2 separate regions of the Homo sapiens genome follow, and region 2 is linked to region 1. Evidence: promoter capture Hi-C in human tissues and cell types (Jung and others, 2019). All regions are on one chromosome and are shown on one strand. The core of a region is centred on a gene start or on the middle of the fragment in contact, and the rest is flanking DNA. Distances in the headings are between cores, read along the strand shown. Region 1 holds the start of CLASP2 (cytoplasmic linker associated protein 2). Region 2 has its middle 33 kb from the start of CLASP2.

Region 1 (2,959 bases), core at 4-2,503:
ACGGGGCAAGTTAAATACAAAATATTTACCTGGCCTCCCAACGCGGCTACATTACACCCTGCCTACCACCAACTCTTCAGAAAGGCTCATTCTTTCTCGCACCTCATCTTTGTAACTTTTTCCCCCCCAGCATTAGCCTATCTACTAAGACACATCAACCTAAAATCGTATCCTAATGTCCTATCTGTTGGTCTGGGTAGTGTTTACACAGGTGAACACAAATGTCGAAGTCTTTCACTGATTTTTTTTTCAAAATAAGTGATCAACATTGTGTCCTAGTAACTCCGCAACGTGTCACGGAATCGCTGAATTTGTCATTGTCCACAAGTGTAGAAAAATGTGGTCACAAGTCAGTCCTCGGCTCGCGTACGAAGAGGCGGTCTGCCCAGTGGGGACGCGGGACCCCCCTGTTTCCCCTATTTTTATTTATTTTTTACTTTTTTTGAGACAGAGTCTCACTCTGTCGCCCAGGCTGGAGTGCAGTGGCTCGATCTCGGCTCACTGCAACCTCTGCCTGCTAGATTCAAGCGATTCTCCTGCCTCAGCCTCCTGGGTAGCTGGGATTACAGGCGCCCGCCACCACGCCCGGCTAATTTTTGTATTTTTAGTAGAGACGGGGTTGCACCATGTTGGTCAGGCTGGTCTCGAACTCCTGACCTCGTGATCCGCCCGCCTGTGCTTCCCAAAGTGTGTTTCCCCTCTTAAGCAGTGGTTCGGACGGGAGCTTTCCCGGCCCGGCGCTCGCGTCCGGGATTAAAGGGCTGCCGCGGAGGGCGTGACCAGCCCAGCCTCGCCGCCGTCGCTTACCCGGTAGTTGCTCGAACCCACCCAGCCGGTGAGCGCGTCGACTGTCTTGCCTAGGCGGCCCAGGTCCTCCTCCAGGTCCGAGATGGCGCCGGGGGCGCCAAGGTAGAGCAGGAGCTCCTGGCCGACCTGCAGCCGGCCGCCGACGTCCTTCTGCTGCACCTGGGCGCAGAAGTACTCCATGCTGCGGGGCTCCATGGCTGCGGCCGCCCGCCCGCCTGCCAGTCTGTGAGCGGCCAACTTTCGCCGAGAGCCGCCCAGCCTCCAGTGCGGGTCCCCGCGGGAGCGGGCGGGACTCACTTAGCCCGCCAGGGGCGCGGCTTGCGGGGCGCAGCGGGCGGCGGGAGGAACGCCAAGCGCCCAGCCGCCCCCAAACTAGTCAAACTCGGCGCCCCCCGATCCCCAGCCCGCTTCAGAGGCCGCGGCCGCGGGCGACGTCAGCACGCGCGTGACGTCAGCACGACGCCGGCGAGGGCCCTCCAGTCCGGCTAGCGTTTTGCTGCGGAGGTGGTGGAGGTGGCTGCGGAAACCGCTGGGAGCGATAGGACCTCTAGGGAGACTTGGGGTCCGAGTTGGGCCGAGCCCCCTGGGAGGCGGGCCGTTCTTTGCTAGCCGCTGTCAGGGCACCCTGCCCTCGCCCTGTGAAATGTGGAACGTTTCCAAGTTTGCCTCCACTTGTATTCAACACTTAGGAAAGTACTTGGCATCCCCCTTTCCCGCCCCCACTGCCGGTTTAAAAAAAAAAAAAAAAAAGAATACACTCCTGACTTCTGCTTCCAGCCACCACCACAGTCACTGTGTAATACTTAAAAAAACAAAACAAAACAAAACTTAGGTTTGCCTAAAGTAAAACGCACAGATTTTCAGCGTACACTTCATGAGTTTCGGCAAATGTATTCACCCGTGGAACCGCCACCCCAGTGAGGGTACAGCACGTTTCCAACACCCCAGGAAGTCCCAGGACACTTCCCAATTATCTGCTCTTCCCTAGGCAATTCTAATTTGATTTCTAGCATGGTAACATAGTTTTCCCTGTTCCTGAACTTCATACAGTCTGTGCTTCTTTGGAGTCTGGTTTCTTTTAGCATAACGTTTGGGGTCCATCCAGCGCTGTTGGTGTCTCAGAAGTCCATTCCTTTTTATTGCTTTCCATTCTGTGGAATCACTACCATTTGTCGATCCATTCACTTGTTGGTAGATATTTGGGTTGTTTCCTATTTTTTATAATTATGAATAAAGCTGCTACAACGGTTAGTGCACAAGTTTTTGTGTGGATATATTTTCTTCTCTCATGGGTAAATAAATACCAAGGACTGGCATTACTAGGTCTTGTAAGTTGTATGTTTAACTTTAGAAGAACCTGCCAAATTGTTTACCAAAGTGACTGGATCATATTAAATCCCCACCAGCAATGCTTGAGAGTTCCAGTTGCTCCACAATATTTGATATGGTCAGGGTTATTAGTTTTAGCCATTCTGGTGGGGGTAAAGTTGTCTAATACATTCCAAAAGCACACTGTGTTTATCTTCTTGACAATTATTCCCAATCACAACAAAATGATTATTTATGTAATATCTTTCTCTTCTAATACACAGAAAGCTCCAGGAACCTTTGTGTTTTCCTAGGGTGGTGCCTAGCAAATAATGGGTGGCCAATTTAAGTTAAATGAGTGAATGAATTCAACAAAAATTGATATTTGAAATATTCACAATAACTAAGAATAAACAAACTCAAAATTCAAAGAAATTGACTGTTTTCTGTGTTCTTTTTTCAGTATTTCTGTGTTTCACATTGTATTGAGTTTGTAAAGTTTCTTCCATCTTTAATTGGTTGTAATTTCCCTCAGACTATGCCTCAATCAAGTAAACTATGTGTGATGGTTAATTTTATGTGTCAACTTGACTGGGGCAAGAGATGCCCAAATAGCTGGCAAAACATTATTTCTGAGTGTGTCTGTGAGAGAGTTTATGGAAGAGATTATCATTTGAATTGGTGAGCTGAGTAAAGCAGATGGCCCTTCCCAATGTCAGTGGACATCATCCAATTCGTTGAGGCCTGAACAGAACACAAGTGTGGAGAAAGGCCAAATTCACTCTCTCTGCTCGATCGGAAACATCCATCTTTTCCTGCTCTCAAAGATGGGTGCTCCTGGTTC
Region 2 (2,957 bases), core at 280-2,779, 34 kb after region 1:
ACCCAATGAAACTGTTATTTTTTAAAATGTGCTAAATTTTTATTTAATAATGCAACTAAAGAGCAGAGAGGAACTTGCTCATGAAGCTAAGCTCAAGTGGGTAGTGGAGTTATGATTGGATGTCATCCCTGCCAATCTTTACTGCCCTAAGCGGGGTTATATTGGGGGTTGGAGCAAACATCTCCTTTAAAGCCAGTGTCTGGTTGAGAGGATAATCTCCCCTTCCCTAATGCCTTCCCCTCAAAAAAGTTGGAGGATCTCACAGCAGAGGTTTAAGGATTATTTAAGAAAAGGACTGAAACCGTCCGGGCATGGTGGCTCACGCCTGTAATCCCAGCATTTTTGGAGGCCAAGGGAGACAGATCTCCTGAGGTCAGGAGTTCGAGACCAGCCTGCCCAACATGGTGAAACCCCATCTCTACTAAAAATACAAAAAATTAGCTGGGCGTGGTGGCGGGTGCCTGTAATCCCAGCTACTCAGGAGGCTGAGGCAGGAGAATCACTTGAACCCGGGAGGCAGAGGATGCAGTGAGCTGAGATTGGGCCACTGCACTCCAGCCTGGGCAACAAGAGTGAAACTCCATCTCAAAAAAAAAAAAAAAAAAGGACTGAAACCAATGTGATAGTACCTGAATGTTGTTCATTATGATTTTCCGTTAAGCAGTTGTTCTCAACCTTGTCAGCATGTTGGAATCACCTGGGGAGTTTTAACAATACCAATGCCTGGGTCCCACCTCCAGAGATTCTGACTTACCTGTTCTGAGGTGTGGCCTGAGGACTGGAACTTTAAAAGCTCCCCAAGTGATTCCAGTGTGCAAGCAAGGTTGGGGGGCATTGCCATGGAGAAAAAGGAGCAGCAGAATATTTCACTAATTACTGTTTCTTTGGAGTTCTGAAATTTCCACTTATTGTTCATTTTTAAAGGCTTGAAATTGGGCTTAGCCCAAATAAATGATGTTGACAAATGCCTAGAATAGCTAAATTATTCTTAGTAGTAGTATTTCAGTTACTGTTTTCATTACTAACTTTTGGCTTCCAAGAGCCATGTTATTAAGTTTGACAAAAGTAAACAATCACATAGAAATAACTCCAAAACACTCTGGCAAAGATAATCTATATCTGGTTAACTGAACTTTAGTCAAAATGAGCAGTTCAGATCCTTCTTTAAGACTGAAATTGCTGATGTACCTTCAGAACAGTGTAGAAAAAAAAGACTGTAATACTTATAAGAACGTAATCAGCTTTCTCAGAAAGTCACAGTTAATCTTTTATTTCAAAAGAATGAGTAATATTGTTTATTGCTTTTTCTTCAGAAAACTCCAAAGTGCTTGAGAACCACAAACCAATGCTTCTGAAATCATACCTTCAGAAACACTTTTAGTGGCTCATCATTTCCATCAACAGTGAACTATGCCCGAGGCCACATCTGTAAAGCTTTTTATGGTTCCTTTGACTTATTTAAATGTATTTTTTAAATCAAAATTTTACTTGTAAATGTGAACATTTATGTATACATATTGTATTTCAATAAAATATTTTAATTATACACATGAATAATAATTTTTTTTTTCCCAGACAGAGTTTTGCCCTTACTTCCCAGGCTGGAATGCAATGGCACGATCTCGGCTCACTGCAACCCCCGCCTCCCAGTTCAAGCGATTCTCCTGTCTCAGCCTCCCAAGTAGCTGGGATTACAGGCATGTGCCACCAGACCTGGCTAATTTTGTCTTTTTAGTAGAGATGGGATTACACCATGTTGGCTACACCGGTCTCAAACTCCTGACCTCGGGTGATCTGCCCACCATGAATAATTTTTAAAGGTCAAATAGTTCAATAAACTTGACAGTAAAAAATAGCACACCTTTCCCCATTTTTCCTTTCCACTCCCCATAAGTAACCTGTTTAAGCATTTTTTTTTGGTACTTACTACCATATTTCTAAATACCAGTTTATGAGGCCATTTTTAAAAATTTTTCAAAATTAAATATTAGCTATTCTTTTCCAAATGGAAATTCAGAATTTATTTTTCTTACATTTCCATTTTCCTTTCCTCACTTTCACTTCCTCTCATCCCATTTTTCCAATATATTTAAATCACAATTTGTGGTTAGCTTAATATTCATAGTAATTTTATTATGAACTATGTAACTGTTTATTACTGAGCCACATAGAAAATTGTGATTATATCTCCTTTCTGTGCAATTTTTTGTGCATGCAACCTGTGAATATATAATTGCCTTGGTTTTTTGTTTAATATTTCACATATTTAGCATTAATTCATTCTCAAAATATTTGTGAGAATCATAAAACTTTTCCCAATGGCTATAAACACATAGAAGTTTATCAGTGCAATTGCTTGATATTTCTCCTGGAGCCCTCTGTTCTGTCCTAGCCTAGGCTGATTGCTTTCTAGGTGGGCTACACAGCTGTCTTGACTTCATTTTACTAAAATTCAAGGAATTCCCTTCTCTGGTTTATTGTATCTTGGATTCTGTAGTTTTCTCCTTCTTGGTTTATACCTGCATATTGTCTGGATTCTATAGTTTTCTCCTTCTTGGTTTATACCTGTATTTTGTGAGGCATATCCTCCACTGGAAGATAAATTATTTAAGACCTAGTATTTCTAACTGCATTTATTCTACACTTACTATTGAGTGGTTTGTCTATAGAATTCTATGTTGTAAATAACTTTATCTTGCATTTTAGAAGACATTGCTCAAAGTCTTCTGGATTTCAGTGTTTTCACTGAGCAGTTGTAGAATGCTTTATTTCAATTGTAGTAAACTTTCAAGATGATGTATCTTGACATAGTTCATTGTAATGTATTTTTCCAGGCACTCATTAACCCTTGCAATCTGGAAATCCATGTCCTTTAATTTGGAGAAATTTTGTCTTAACTCTTTGAAAATGTCTCCCCTCTATTTGCTCTGTTTTCTCTTTCCAGAACTCTTATTTGT

The links. Contacts are between HindIII fragments. The study calls those that stand out against the background at their distance.
Region 2: a contact is called between a fragment that was not itself captured here and the fragment with the promoter of CLASP2 in region 1, in 1 of the 25 tissues and cell types used here (H1 embryonic stem cells).

Annotation. Positions count from the first base shown.
Region 1 is chr3:33,717,001-33,719,959 of GRCh38, forward strand. It overlaps CLASP2 (cytoplasmic linker associated protein 2), which reads right to left and starts at 1,254. Exons shown (of 39, transcript NM_001365631.1): 1 at 808-1,254. The coding sequence starts at 1,002. RefSeq lists a silencer at 986-1,325 and an enhancer at 1,526-1,615. The HindIII fragment of the contact is 13,875 bases long and covers 1-2,959 here.
Region 2 is chr3:33,750,227-33,753,183 of GRCh38, forward strand. No RefSeq gene overlaps it. Among named protein-coding and RNA genes, the nearest start is that of CLASP2, 33 kb to the left of the region's middle. The HindIII fragment of the contact is 7,887 bases long and covers 1-2,957 here.